Linked DNA regions of Homo sapiens: regions 2, 3, 4 and 5 are each linked to region 1. Evidence: promoter capture Hi-C in human tissues and cell types (Jung and others, 2019). All regions are on one chromosome and are shown on one strand. Each heading gives the region's core, a stretch centred on a gene start or on the middle of the fragment in contact. The rest is flanking DNA. Distances are from core to core; before and after follow the strand shown. Region 1 holds the start of APOBEC3B (apolipoprotein B mRNA editing enzyme catalytic subunit 3B). Region 2 overlaps SYNGR1 (synaptogyrin 1). Region 3 holds the start of TAB1 (TGF-beta activated kinase 1 (MAP3K7) binding protein 1). Region 4 holds the start of PDGFB (platelet derived growth factor subunit B). Region 5 overlaps GTPBP1 (GTP binding protein 1).

Region 1 (2,745 bases), core at 82-2,581:
TACAAAGTATGTTTCTGATAAACGGAACTGTTTATTTTCCACCGATGGTCTTATCCTTTGTCCATCTCTTTCTGACGGCAACAGAAAACTTCACCTTCCAGAGGAGCGCCTCTGCCTGGCTGTCCCACCGTCTGGGAAGTAAGGAGCGCCTCTGCCCAGCCCCCGCACCGTCTGGGAAGTGAGGAGCGCCTCTGGACGGCCCCCGCACCGTCTGGGAAGTGAGGAGCGCTTCTGGACGGCTCCCAGCAACCCCCCAGGTGTGAAGTGACAGCCCTGTGTGTGATCTTTCTGCCCTCCCCAAGTTTGCATTTTCGACAATAAAATTTACTTTTAAATTAAAAGATTTATACTGGGGAAGATTTAAAAAAAAAAAAAGAAAGAAAAGAAAACTCACCTTCCAAAAACAACCACTGGGAGTCCGCTTTGTGCAGAGGTTGGACAAGCTTCTGTGCAGGTAGGGGCGCTGCTGCTCCCCCTACCACCCACGCATCCTCCTCCCTGTCTGCATTCCCGTCGTCGTAGCCAGAGGAGTTCAGAGCCTCTACAGAGAGCACAACTTCTCCAGCTGGAACAAACTCCCCTTAAAGGAATCTATTTAGGAAGATTATTTCAATGTACATTCATTCCTCCAAAATATGCTTAGATGGACTTAAATAATCAGAAAGCTGTGTGTGTATGTGTTTCCCGTTTTCTTGGCCCACAAAGAACCCCTTGAGAGGTCCCTGGGCAGTGAGCCTGTTTATAGACACCCTTCTCCCTTCCTTGGTGTCGCAGACATCGCAGTCCCTCTGAGGGGCTGACCTGCCCCCCACCTTCTGGAAGCTGGGAGGTTGGAAGAGGGGACGCATGCCATGGACCCAGCACACAGCTGGGAACTCGAGGCACACCTAAGCCTTCCCTTGTGCTGTGCGGAGTCCACACTTCCTTCCCCACTGGAGTCTCAAAACCTCCCCTCACTCAACAGGGTGGTGCTGCTCAAAGCTCTGGGCACACATTAGGGCTGGGGAGGGGGTGGTGGAGAGGGGGCTCCAGCCTGCCCAACCACCAGGCAACGGGGCACCTGCCCCTCTCTCAGCTGGGTCTGGACCCGCCTCCCAGGCTCAGGCTGCAATGCCTTTCTCTTTCTCTTTGCAATTCCGTTGGGTCCTGCCCAGGACAGATAAAGACAGAGCAGCCTGTCTTTATTGGAGGTTCCTCTGCCAGCGGGAAGGGTCCGGGGAAAACCAGAGCCAGAGCCAGAGCCAGAGAAACATGAAGCACCCCGGGGCCTCCCACACCAATGCCTGAGCAGGAATGGGGAGGGGCCATGACTCATAAGGCCCTGGGAGGTCACTTTAAGGAGGGCTGTCCAACTGCAAGGACGCTGTAAGCAGGAAGTGAAACCACAGAGCTTCAAAAAAAGAGCGGGACAGGGACAAGCGTATCTAAGAGGCTGAACATGAATCCACAGATCAGGTACCGCTGCCCACTCTGCCTGCTGGGCCCCTCCTGCCCCTTCCTGCCTGGTGGTCCTGCTGGGCCTCAACCCTGGCCTCCCCCCGCCCCTGCCCCAGCCCTGGGCTCCCTCCCCTCTGGCTCCCCTGCCACACGAATCCCAGTCAGGCTCTTTGTCCTGCTGTGTGGTCACCCCACTGCTGCTTCTGAATGGGCTGCCTCCCCTACCTGCACCAGCCCAGGCCCCGTGCTGAGACTCTCCCTTAAAGTCATGCCCGGACTGGTGCTCCCCGCCCTGGGAGGGTGCTCCCTCTGTGTGCTTCCTGCCACTCCTGAGCTCAGAAACTGGGAGAATTGAACCAAAGGGTAATTGGAGCAATCAGGCATTTTTGTTCTCAGTGTTTTGATGAAATTTCTGTAAGAATTACTTTGCTTAAATACAAAGTCTTAGGAGAGGGTGCGGGGGTAGGAATGGTCTCTGAAGCACATGATAAATCGTGTCATCCAAGGATGACTCCATGGTGAGCAGATGTCCCCAGACAGGTTCCACTCCAAGGTCACTCTTCATCTTTTAGAACATGACCAGTGGTTGAGCGTGGTGGCTCACACTTGTAATCCCAACACTTTGGGAGGCCAAGGCGGGCGGATCATGAGGTCGGGAGTTTGAGACCAACCTGGCCCATATGGTGAAACCCCGTCTCTACTAAAAAACATACAAAAATTAGCCAGGCATGGTGGCGCATCTCTAGTCCCAGATACTCAGGAGGTTTAGGCAGGAGAATTGCTTGAACCTGGGAGGTGGAGGTTGCAGTGAGCTGAGATCATGCCACTGCACTCCAGCCTGGGCGACAGAGTGAGACTTCATCAAAAAAAAAAAGAAAGAACATGATCAGTAACATGGAATGTGAGAATGTGGGAAAAAAGTGCAATGATGAGGAGAAATGCTCTGATTTTAAAATTTAGTGAAAAGAGAGCCCAGTCCCCAACAGCTTTCTCCTACAGGATCCGTGATGCAGAGGCTGGACAGGGCTGGCCTGGAAAGGGGCCCCTGCTCCATCCGTCCCCAGCTCTGTGGCCTCGGCAGGTTACCCCGCCTCTCTGTGCCTCTGGCATCTCCTCTGTAAGATGGGAATGGCCCCTGCAGGCCTAGGGTAGCCTCACGTGAGCTCACACCCGCTCAGCACTTAGAAGAGTGGCCTGGGCCTCAGAATTCAGTTCTACCATGATTTTAAAATAATGTTAACACGCAGAGTGAAACATCAGGAAGGAATTGAGCTGAAAGGTTAAAAGCTATTTTTTAGGGGTGAAGGG
Region 2 (2,768 bases), core at 250-2,749, 370 kb after region 1:
GAAGCTGAGCTCCAGGACCAGGGTGACCCGTTTATCCTGGTGTGCTGGAACTTCCTGCCTTTAGCATTCTGAGAGGCCCTTAGTCCAGACAAACAGGGACAATTTGTCACCCTGTCCAGGACTCCTGGACAACCCAGACCCCTACCACAGCCCTGGAGGGGCCCTAACAGCATGTGCACATGAACCTGTGATTGTTTTTTTTCTTTTTTTGAGATGGAGTCTTGCTCTGTTGCCCAGGCTGGAGTACAATGGTGCCATCTCGGCTCATTGCAACCTCCGCCTCCCAGGTTCAAGCAACTCTACTGCCTCGGCCTCCCAAGTAGCTGGGACTACAGGCACACACCACCACGCCCAGCTAATTTTTGTATTTTTAGTAGAGATGGGGTTTCACCATGTTAGCCAGGCTGGTCTCGAACTCCTGACCTCAGGTGATCCACCTGCCTTGGCCTCCCAACGTGCTGGGATTACAGGCGTGAGCCACCGCACCCGGCCTGGACCTGGGATTTTTGTAAAATTTGTAAAAGAAAGATTTTTTTTTCTGTTGCTTTTCCAAAAGAGGGCCCCCAAATCATGTAAGCTTCAGGGCCTCACCAACCTGGACCCACCCTGGAACCCAAGCCCTCTGAGCCCCTGGGTCAGCCTGCACAGAAGCAGGGCCTCCAAGACCTGGCTTGTCTCTTTTTTATTTTTTTAGAGACAGGATCTTGCTGTGTTGCCCAGGCTGGTCTCAGACTCCTGGACTCAAGTGATCCTCCCACCTCAGCCTTGTGAGCAGCTGGGACGATGAGGCGAGGCGTGGGCCACTGCATCCGGCATGGCTTGTCTCTTGACTAAGGCTTTCTCACCTCTTGGTGTCATCGCCCCAGTGGCAGATCAGCTGCCACTCCTGGCACCCCCAGGCCACAGCTGTGACCTTCAGTAAGTGTCCCCTCCCCACCCTCTGTGCCTCAGTCTTCCCACCCGAACTGGGCTGGGCTGGGTCAGAAGTGCCTGATCTGTTGCGCGGTGACTGCCGCCTGTCAGTGACTCATTTCTTTGTTCTAAAGCCAGATGGGAAAAAAAGGAGTTACAGCAAGAAGCTAAACTGATTTAATAGAAAGGACCACCTTTTATTTGGAGTTTATATTCTTTTTTGCAGGGGGCTAAGATGGACTATAGGGAATGAATATCAGTGCTGGCAGATGAGTTTTTTGTTTGTTTGTTTTTTGTTTTTGAGATGGAGTCTCGCTCTGTCTCCAGGCTAGAGTGCAGTGGCGCGATCTTGGCTCACTGCAACCTCTGCCTCCTGGTTTCAAGTGATTCTCCTGCCTCAGCCTCCCAAATAGCTGGGATTACAGGCACCCACCACCATGCCCAGCTACTTTTTAAATTTTTAGTAGAGACGGGGTTTCACCATCTTGGCCAGGCTGGTCTCAAACTCCTGACCTAGTGATCCACCCGCCTCAGCCTCCCAAAGTGCTGGGATTACAGGTGTGAGCCACCGTGCCCAGTCAATGTTTCTTTAATTCTCTACTTTGACAAAATGAAAATGATAAAATGTTTGAAATGTTGCCATTTTCAGGGTTCATTTTTTAAGGGCTTTGGCCATAATACCACATGGTTCTGTAAGTGGGGTGGGTATCTTCCCCCCGTTTTACAAATGACAGAATTAAGGCTCAGCCTGGAGAAGTGACTTGTGCTAGCTCAAGGCCTGGGCTTGTCAGAGACTTGGTTTGAACCCGGACTGCTGGGCTCCACATTCTGTGTACTCCCTGTGGGTTCTCTGCCTGGATATCCATGGCACCAAGGGGTGGCCTGAGGGGGGCAGCTTCATACCCCTGGTTTTATTCACCCCCTCCACTCCACCCCCCATCATCCCAAGTGAACACTGAATAAAAAAGCTGAACTTGGCCAGGTGAGGTGGCTCACGCCTATAATCCCAGCACTTTGGGAGGCCAAGGCGGGTGGATCACTTGAGGTCAGGAGTTCGAGACCATCCTGGCCAACATGGTGAAACCCCATCTCTACTAAAATACAAAAATTAGCTGAGCGTGGTGGCGGTCGCCTGTTATCCCAGCTACTCAGGAGGCTGAGGCAGGAGAATCGCTTGAACCCGGGAGGCGGAGGTTGCAGTTAGCTGAGATCACACCACTGCACTCCAGCCTGGGCAACAAAAGCAAAACTCTGTCTCAAATAAAAAAAAAAAAAAGCTGAACGTTTTTTGTAAACACAGCAGTTTCAAGATAAGACCCCTTGCCTCCCCCAACCAACTTGCCATGTGCCAGCCATGGGGCCACAGGAAAATTCTGGGACCAGCGGTTGTTGGGGAAGAGGGTCCAGGGTAGAGACAGAACCTCTGGCCAGTTCTGATGTTCATTTGTTCATTCCACAAGTCCCCTGCTCAGTGCCAGCTGAGTGCTCAGTGCCACCCCAAGGCACTCTCGCTCCAATAACGAGAACAGGATTGAGTGGGAAGCACTGTCCCAGAGGCTCGGGTCACTACAAGAAGGAATTCCCAAGGGGTGGCCCAGGAGAGGCTTGGATGACAGACTCACAAGCTGGACTTCCTCTGAGGGCAGTGGGAAGCTGGAGAGAGGGTCAAGGGTATTTCGGAAGCTCCTGTGGAAGCTTGGTTTGGAGAGGGCTCTGTGGCTGGAAATGCGTGGTCACGTCCAGCCTGTCCTCTCCCAGTACCGGGCACAGCCCTGTCACCTAGACAGGAAGGTGGGCCCACGGCCCTTGTTTGTTATTTATTGCTGACCACCCTGGAGTCTTTCTCACCTCTTCAC
Region 3 (2,700 bases), core at 161-2,660, 420 kb after region 1:
TGTCCCTACAACCCCTTCATCTCTCTCCTCCAACTCTGTGCAAGCCACAGTGGGCTCCCGTGACAAGTGTGCTTTTTTTTTTTTTTTTTTTAAGACAGAGTCTCACTCTGTTGCCCAGGTTGGAGTGCAGTGGAGTGATCTCAGCTCACTCACTGCAACCTCCACCTCCCAGGTTCGTGATTCTCCTGCTTCAGCCTCCCAAGTAGCTGGGATTACAGGCGTGCACCACCATGCCTGGCTAATTTTTTGTAGTTTTAGTAGAGATGGGGTTTCACCATGTTGGCTGGACTGATCTCGAACTCCTGACCTCAGGTGATCCACCGGCCTCGGCCTCCCAAAGTGCTGGGATTACAGGCATGAGCCACCGCGCCTGCCCCCGGCAGAATGTCTTATATACATAAATGTTGTCCTCTCCAATTAAAATGTTAACATTTTAGGTTGGGCGGGGTGGCTCACACTTGTAATCCCAGCACTTTGGGAGGCCCAGGCAGAAGAATCGTTTTAGGCCAGGAGTTTGAGACCAGCCTGGCCAACATAGCGGTACTCCGTCTCTACAAAAAATGTAAAAGATTAGCTGGGCGTGGTGGCGGGCGCCTGTAACCCCAGCTACTCGGGAGGCTGAGGCAGGAGAATCGCTTCAACCCGGGAGGCAGAGGTTGCAGTGAGTCCAGATCACGCCACTGCATTCCAGCCTGGGCGACAGAGCAAGCCTCCGTCTCAAAAATAACATAACATAACATAACATAAAATAATAATAAAATGAAATGAAATAAAATAAAATAAAATGTTAGCTTTTTGAAGGCCTGTCCTGCTCGCTGCAGAACCCACTATAGAGCCAAGCAGGGTCACCTAGGTAGCATTTGCTGAGTGAATGAATTGTCCTCCCCTTACCAACTGTGTTCACAAAGAACCCTCAGGAGTTCAAGACCAGCCTGGCCAACATGGCGAAACCCCGTTTCTACTAAAAATACAAAAATTAGCCGGGCGTGGTGGCTCATGCCTGTAGTCCCGGCTACTCCGGAGGCTGGGGCAGGAGAGGCGGGCACCTGTAATCCCAGCTACTCGGGAAGCTGAGGAAGGAGAATCGCTTGAGGCCGGAAGGCAGAGGTTGCAGGGAGCTGTGATCGCGCCACTGCACTCCAGCCTGGGTGACAGAGTGAGACCCTATCTCAAAAAATAATAAAGATGGGCGAGGAGCAATCGGCCCCGAGGAAAAGACAAAACAAAACAACAACAACAACAACAACAACAAAACGTGCAAGAGCGCGCCTGCGCACACGGTCCGCTACGACCCCCATCCCTCTTCGGGCGTGGGGTGGCGCTGGGCGCATGCTCCCCGGCAGCGCGGTCATCCTCGCCTCCTTCGGGCCGCTCTAGCCGCCCCACTCGCTGCTCTGCGGGGAGGCGGGCGCTCCCGCAGGGGTTCCTCCAAGATGGCGGCGCAGAGGAGGAGCTTGCTGCAGAGTGTGAGGAACAGGCCCGCTCTCTGGGCTTGGGGTTGGGAGCCTGGGCGGGGGTGCTGTCGGGTGCAGGAACGGCTCCTTCTCCGAGTTTGGACAGCCACCCTCTCCGTGGTGGGGTGTGTCAGCCACCTTCTCCTCTCCTCGGGCTGGCCCCCTCGTTCCCGAGGCCAGGGCGTGTGTGCGCGGCGGGCCCGGCCCCCGGGTCAAGGGCGCCGGGGCTGTGGGCTGCTGCTGCCGGGCGTCGAGGGCGGGAGCGTCCTGGAGCCAGAAGGGAACACGGCGGGCGGCAGCAGAGCTATCCGAGTCTCGAGCCCACTGCGACACCGAGCAGACGTGCAATGATAATAACAGCAGCATCCACAGTGTACCGCTTACTGCATCCCCGGCGTTGTGTTAATTGCTTTACATTTGTCAGTTTCATTTTCGTAGCAGCCCCCTGAGATAGGTGCTACTGTTATTCCTATTTGACAGACTGAGACACTGAGGTGGTCGTTTGCCTAAGGCCACACAAATGGTACGTATTGAGGCAGGATTAAAATCAGGCAGTGTGATTCCAGAAACCCCCTTAACCCCTGGGCTGTACTAAAGGAATGACCAGTGGTAGCTGTCACTGGGTTCTGGTCCTGGCTCTGACTGTGTCTCCCTCAGCCTCAGTTTCCTTCTCCTAAGGCGAGAGCGCTGAGTGGAAGAATTGTCTTCAGACTCATCCCTACCCCCGGTCTGGACCCTCATGGGTTTGGCGCTGTCTTCCAGGCCCTGCGTCCTCTGACGCGTATGTGCACATAGATGCACACACATGTTGGCACCATGGACTACTCTGACCTACCAGGGTAGGGTGCTGGCCTCCTGGGTCCTTCCTATGCATGGCACTGTTAGAATTGTCTATGGACTTGTCTGCCTCCTGTACTAGAAAGTAAACTCCGCCGGGCGCGGTGGCTCATGCCTGTAATCCCAGAACTATGGGAGGCTGAGGCGGGTGGATCACGAGGTCAGGAGATCAAGACCATCCTGGCCAACATGGTGAAACCCCGTCTTTACTAAAAATACAAAAATTAGCCGAGCGTGGTGGGGGCGCCTGTAGTCCCAACTATTCGGGAGGCTGAGGCAGGAGAATTAGCTTGAACACAGGAGGCGGAGCTTGCAGCGAGCCAAGATCGGGCCACTGCACTCCAGCCTGGAGCGACAGAGCGAGACTGTGTCTCAAAAAAAAAAAAAAAAAAAAAACGAAAGTAAACTC
Region 4 (2,775 bases), core at 1-2,500, 260 kb after region 1:
CTGTCACCCCCGGACCTCGCTCCCAGCCCGAAGAGGTCACCCAGCGCCCGGCGTCAGGCTCGCGGGCTGCAAGGGTCCAAAGTTCACTGCAGGGAGAGGAGGGGGCGGTCAGAAGGGGGGGGCGAAGGTAATGAATGAAGAACCAGCCCCAGCCGCCGTGGCAACTCACCTCGGCGCTGACCAGACGCAGGTAGCAGCAGAGAGACAGGAAGAGCGCCCAGCAGCGATTCATGCCGACTCCGGGCCCGGCCCCGCGGGGCCCCGGACGCGTAGATCGAGCGCGCCGCCCCCGCGGCCAGGGTGGGGGGCTGGGGAGGGGGGTGGGCTCGGCTCGGGTCCGCGGCGATCAGGCGCTCAGGCCTCTGCAGCCGCGGCTCACCCGCATGGCCCCCGGGCGCCGCCGCCCCCGGCCCCGGCTCCGTCGCTGGGGGGCAGGGGAGGACCTGGGCGCAGGACCTGGGTCCGAGGCCGCTACCTGGGCGGATCCCGAGCCCGAGTGAGCATCCACGGCCGGGGGGCTGCGTCGCGAACCAGCCGAGGCGTCTAGCCGTGTGGGGGCGCCCAGGGGACTCCAACCTCCAAGAGGAAAAGGAACACGGCAGTCGATGGTTCGTCTTCACTCGCCGGCTACAGGCGTTTTCCTCTGCCCGCCGGCTTAGCTTTTTTGCAACATTTTCTGGAAAGGCCCCCAAAATCGGAAAGCGCGGAGCTGGGCACCTCAAGGCCCAAGTCTCCCCCAAAAAACTTTTTCCAAAGTTGGCTTTGCAACGGCAGCTCGAGCACCCGGGCAGGGAGAGGTGCAAACTCCCGCCCGGGCCGGGTAGGGGGGCGGGAGCGTGTGCGCCCTGGCGCGGGGCCCGGGCGGCGGGCACGGCTGCTCCGCGCGCGCGGCGTGCCCGCTGCGCGCTCGGCTGGGCCCGGCCGACAGGTGGACGCGGCGCGAGTCCGTCGGTCCGTCTGCCCGCCCGCTCGCCGCTCTGGGCGTCCTCTGCGGGCTGCGGGCTGCGAGCTGCGAGCTGCGAGCTGCGGCTGCTCCGGTTTTCTCTTTGCAGCGAGGCTGGAGGGTGGGCTTTTTTTTTTTTTTTTCCTTTTTGCGCGCGTATGTATGTGTGTGCGCGCAAAGTATCTCTATCTAGGGAATGAAAAATGGGCGCTGGCGGCCGGAGGGGAGCCCTAGGGAGGCAGCGGGGGAGGCTGCGGGTGCGCAGGGAGGCAGGCAGGCCGCTCCCGGCTGCAGGAGGAGAAGTTGCCACCCTTTCAGCTGTTCCGGCCTTTATAAAGGAGAAGGGAGAGTGCGAGAGGTGGGTGGAGACAGCCTTTCCTCTTCTGGCCCGGAGTCAGCGCCAGGAGGGGGGGGACGCGGGAGCTGGGGGAGGGCTTGGGGCCAGGGCGGGGCGCTTAGGGGGTCTCTGAGAGCCGAGCAACCCTTCAGTCCATGAATCTGGCCCTGGGGAAAAAAGAACTAGGGGTGACCCACCGTCCCGCCCCTCAGCACAGTGACCATGGACAGGTTAGGAGCCCACGTGGTCTAGGGGGATGTCTCCAGAGCCAAGGCCAGGAGTCCACGCTCCCCTCCAGGACCAGACATTTCCACCCTGGCACAGGCATGGCAGGGAGGGACTCAGGCTCTGCAGTCTGAGAGCCTGAATTCAGATCCTGCCCTGGCACTCGGGAGCTTGGGTCACCTTGGGCAAGTCACTTCCCTCTGTCCCCTCCATCTAGCCTCAACCTGGAGATGGGGCTATTGTAAGGACTCAGTGTTAGCAAGGGAAGACACCGCAAGGTGAACCCACAGAACCCGGCAGCCAGCGCCCTTCAGCTGCAAGCTGGGTCCGAGTCTCCTCCTCCTAGCTGGTTGCCTGGCACAACAGGCCCTGCCAGCGTTGGCTGAATTTGAATTTGTTGAACTGCAAAGTCACACAAACCCCCACAGCCCTGCAGCATCTTCGCAGGGCTACCAACATGATCTTCCCGTCAGTCACCCTGCTGTTTACTATCTCCCTCAGCCCCCGGGTTCGAGGCCCAGAGCCCACCCACCCACAACCAGCCTTCACACAGTTAACGCCTTCTGCCCCCAGTCAGGGAGCTGCTGTGTCCCTGCCTTCAGCAGTCACACTGTCTCAGTCACAGTCACACGTACTCACACTGGGCCCAGCACCCCCCTCGGGACACGCAGGCTCCTGCATCACCCAGCCTCCCGGCTTTGAGGCACCCTCATCTCCTCCGCTTGCACTGTCTCTGTTATCCGCCCTTCCCTTTGGGATGTCAGCCTGCTTCTCACAGAGGAGCACACTGAGAGAGTCACACCTGCTCTCTCTTCATAGACTGTCTTCTTGGACCTGGACAGGGTGGAACAGAGGAGGAAGGACATCTCAGGTGGTCTTTACAGACCACTGCAGGCACCCACCCACTGCTGCCTACCACCCAGCAGCGTGGCACAGTGGCAGAGACACAGCCTGAAGACACATCACCTTGGTCCAAATCCTGGAGTGGCCACTTGCTGGACAAGTGTCTGCAGGAAGGTTTTTTAACCTCTCAGTACCTCGGTTTCCTCCTTTATAAACTGGAGATGAATTTATAAACTGGAGCTGGGTGTGGTAACAAGCTCCTGTAGTCCCAGCTACTCAGGAGACTGTGGATCGTTTTGAGCCCAGGAGTTTGAGGCTGCAGTGAGTTGTGACTGTGCCACTGCACTCCAGCCTGGGCAACAGAGCAAGACCCTATCTCTAAAGAAATAAAAATAAATCTATAATGGGAAGGAGTGAGAGAGAACAG
Region 5 (2,700 bases), core at 81-2,580, 260 kb before region 1:
TCTGTGCTTTTCTTACTCTAGCAGCACCCAAAGTTTTGATCCTCCTTTTTGCTTCTCCAGGCATTGTGGCATTTAACACTGGTCCATCTATCTGTCTGTCTCCTGCTTGCATCAGTAATGAGTGGACCCATCTTGCTCTTAAAGCCTGGCCAAAGAGAAGGCTGTGTCCCCCTAATTCTGTTCCATTGCACCCTTTAAGAAACCCTGAAGCTGTTACAGCGCCTGCTGAAGTCACCAGGCTGCCGGAAGATCCCCGTGCTGGTGCAGAGCAAAGATGATGTGATTGTCACAGCCTCCAACTTCAGCTCTGAAAGGTAACGCGTGGGGAGCGCACACTTCAGACAGGCACCCTTGCAGGCAGGACCACAGTGAGTGATGGGCCTGGAATGGCTGTCAGTTTGGGCATAAGGTCTCATGAAAACACCACATCAACACCTCTCCCTATTCAGAGATCGGAGGAAATAGAAGCTTCCAATCTTAGCGCAGGGTCTCCCAAGCCAGCATTGTTGCCCAGGGGTAATATCACGTAACCCAGATTGTGAGGTGCTGGCATTCCTGGGGTTGGCATCCCGGCTGAGACTTCAGTGTCCTTATCTGTGAAATGGGAATAACATTCCCTTCCCTGTAGGGCTCCCGTGAATGTTGGAAATGAAGTATGTAGAGCACTTAATGCCCTGCCTGGCTGATGGATGGTAAATACACAGCCATTTTTGTAACTCAGTTTTTTATACTGTTGTTCCTCAAAAGCTCACTAATCAGATCAGTTTTGGCATTTACTCATTAATGTATTCTTTCATTCCATAAATATTTATTGGATGTTTGTTCTGCGAGACTCTTCATCTAGATGTTGAGGATTCAGAGTTGAATTGAACACAATCCTTGTCCTCAAGGTGTTCAGCTCCTTGGTGAGAGATGCTCTCTCGATAATGGTGAACTCTACTAACTCTGCCTGTTTGCCCAGAGCTTGGTCTATAGCGCCAGGCCCAGAGCAGCCTGGCTTTTTGCCTATGCCTCTGCCCTGATGTGATCTTCAGTACCATCAGTTAGCCTGCAGAGGGGGCACATTTCAGACAGCCCCATTTGAGCTTGTTGATATTCTTGAGTGCCTATTCTGTGCAGGCACTATTCTAGGAGCTGTGGGGAATGTGTAATTCGTGATCTCAAGGATTTTAATTCAGTCACCCTGAATAGGAGCAATAGAGGCCATTTACAGGACTCTGATGAAAAATCAGATGCAGTCATGTGTAATAGAGAAAAAGCTCTCCAGGAACTCAGAGGAGTCAAGAGTGTCCACCCAGGAAGGATTTCATGGAAGAAGTGGTATTTGAGATGAGCTCTGAAGGGTGAGAGGGCCTGGTAGTTGCATAAAAGGGAAAGAATTCAGGAAGGAAGGTCAGAGTGAGCAAATCCACAAGGGCAGAAAAGTTCCAAAGTTTTAGGAGAAGGGAGAGTTCTCTGGTGTGGCTGGAATATAGGAATTTGCGAGAAGTGAATCTGCAGAGATGGCTACAAGCCCAAGCCAAAGGGCTGTGAGTGTTGGGAGAGGGATTTGGGGTATCTTCTCTGTGGTGGAAAGGCGGTTAAGGATTTTAAGCAAGCATGCGTGTGTTTTAGGAAGAAGCAGTCATGAGGTTCCAAACTAGGGCAGTGGTGGAGGACAGAGAGGAGAGGACAGGTGTCAGAGACAGAACTGAGTGAGAGAAGAAGGCCTCAGAGTAGGGCTGGCCAGGAGCTTGCTAGGTCAGGGCAAAGAGGTCAAGCCCTTGGAGGCAGGTGAGGGAGAGGTGGAGTCATGAATAGTGGCATCTGCTCCTCGAGCCCTGTTGCTGCCCCTGGTCTGTGTCAGGGCAGGACCTGGTCTCCTGAGTGCCTCTCTCCTTTTTTCCTTCCTCTTCTCCCTCTGCTTAGGATGTGCCCGATATTCCAGATCTCCAACGTTACAGGCGAGAACCTAGATCTGCTGAAGATGTTCCTCAACCTCCTCTCCCCCCGCACCAGCTACAGGGAGGAGGAGCCTGCTGAGTTTCAGATTGATGACACCTACTCCGTCCCGGTAAGTGGCTCTGGGCGGGTAGCTGGGTGGGCACTTCCTACAGTGGCATCAGGGGGTGGGTCTGTGCTGGGGATGCACTTATGAGGCCAGGGTCTTCTCCTTGGCAGGGTGTGGGGACAGTGGTTTCGGGGACAACACTGAGAGGCCTGATCAAGCTGAATGACACGCTGCTGCTGGGCCCAGACCCCTTGGGTAACTTCCTGTCCATTGCTGTCAAATCCATCCATCGCAAGCGCATGCCTGTCAAGGAGGTGCGGGGTGGCCAGACAGCATCCTTTGCGCTGAAGAAGGTGAGTAGCGATGATACTGAACGCTCCCCTCAGACTCCATCATGCTAGGCTCTTGGCCAGATGCCCTGCTCACCCACTCTAGTCCTCATGGCTGCTCTGCAAGGTCGGGATTACTGGCTTCATTTTTACAGATGAGGAAACTGAGGCTCAGAGCCCAGGGACTTGCCCAAGACACACAGCTTGTAAGTGCTAGAGCGAGGAATGCCTCCTTCTAAGCTCCGTTCCTCCCTCTGGTGCCTGAGCAGGGTGGCCTGAGCTCAGTGGTGAGGTCAAATAGGAGTATCCCTGCTGTGCAAGGATCCTTCTACATAGGACCATTGGGATCTGCGCCACATCCTCTTCCCATTCAGCCTTCTA

Evidence for each region. Contacts are between HindIII fragments. The study calls those that stand out against the background at their distance.
Region 2: a fragment that was not itself captured here is called in contact with the fragment with the promoter of APOBEC3B in region 1 in 5 of the 25 tissues and cell types used here (adrenal gland, lymphoblastoid cells, mesenchymal stem cells and 2 more).
Region 3: the fragment with the promoter of TAB1 here is called in contact with the fragment with the promoter of APOBEC3B in region 1 in 4 of the 25 tissues and cell types used here (adrenal gland, aorta, bladder and 1 more).
Region 4: the fragment with the promoter of PDGFB here is called in contact with the fragment with the promoter of APOBEC3B in region 1 in 1 of the 25 tissues and cell types used here (liver).
Region 5: a fragment that was not itself captured here is called in contact with the fragment with the promoter of APOBEC3B in region 1 in 2 of the 25 tissues and cell types used here (liver and spleen).

What each region holds. Positions count from the first base shown.
Region 1 is chr22:38,981,016-38,983,760 of GRCh38, forward strand. APOBEC3B (apolipoprotein B mRNA editing enzyme catalytic subunit 3B) reads left to right here and starts at 1,332. Exons shown (of 8, transcript NM_004900.5): 1 at 1,332-1,455. The coding sequence starts at 1,439. RefSeq lists a silencer at 1,466-1,515. The HindIII fragment of the contact is 18,696 bases long and covers 1-2,745 here.
Region 2 is chr22:39,352,670-39,355,437 of GRCh38, forward strand. All of the region lies in intron 1 of SYNGR1 (synaptogyrin 1), which reads left to right. Among named protein-coding and RNA genes, the nearest start is that of SYNGR1, 4.1 kb to the left of the region's middle. The HindIII fragment of the contact is 5,350 bases long and covers 1-2,768 here.
Region 3 is chr22:39,398,370-39,401,069 of GRCh38, forward strand. TAB1 (TGF-beta activated kinase 1 (MAP3K7) binding protein 1) reads left to right here and starts at 1,411. Exons shown (of 11, transcript NM_006116.3): 1 at 1,411-1,466. The coding sequence starts at 1,434. RefSeq lists an enhancer at 1,350-1,469 and a silencer at 1,630-1,769. The HindIII fragment of the contact is 8,049 bases long and covers 1-2,700 here.
Region 4 is chr22:39,243,732-39,246,506 of GRCh38, forward strand. PDGFB (platelet derived growth factor subunit B) reads right to left here and starts at 1,251. Exons shown (of 7, transcript NM_002608.4): 1 at 170-1,251. The coding sequence starts at 232. The HindIII fragment of the contact is 11,810 bases long and covers 1-2,775 here.
Region 5 is chr22:38,724,098-38,726,797 of GRCh38, forward strand. It overlaps GTPBP1 (GTP binding protein 1), which reads left to right. Exons shown (of 12, transcript NM_004286.5): 6 at 200-314; 7 at 1,909-2,053; 8 at 2,161-2,343. Among named protein-coding and RNA genes, the nearest start is that of GTPBP1, 20 kb to the left of the region's middle. The HindIII fragment of the contact is 3,648 bases long and covers 1-2,700 here.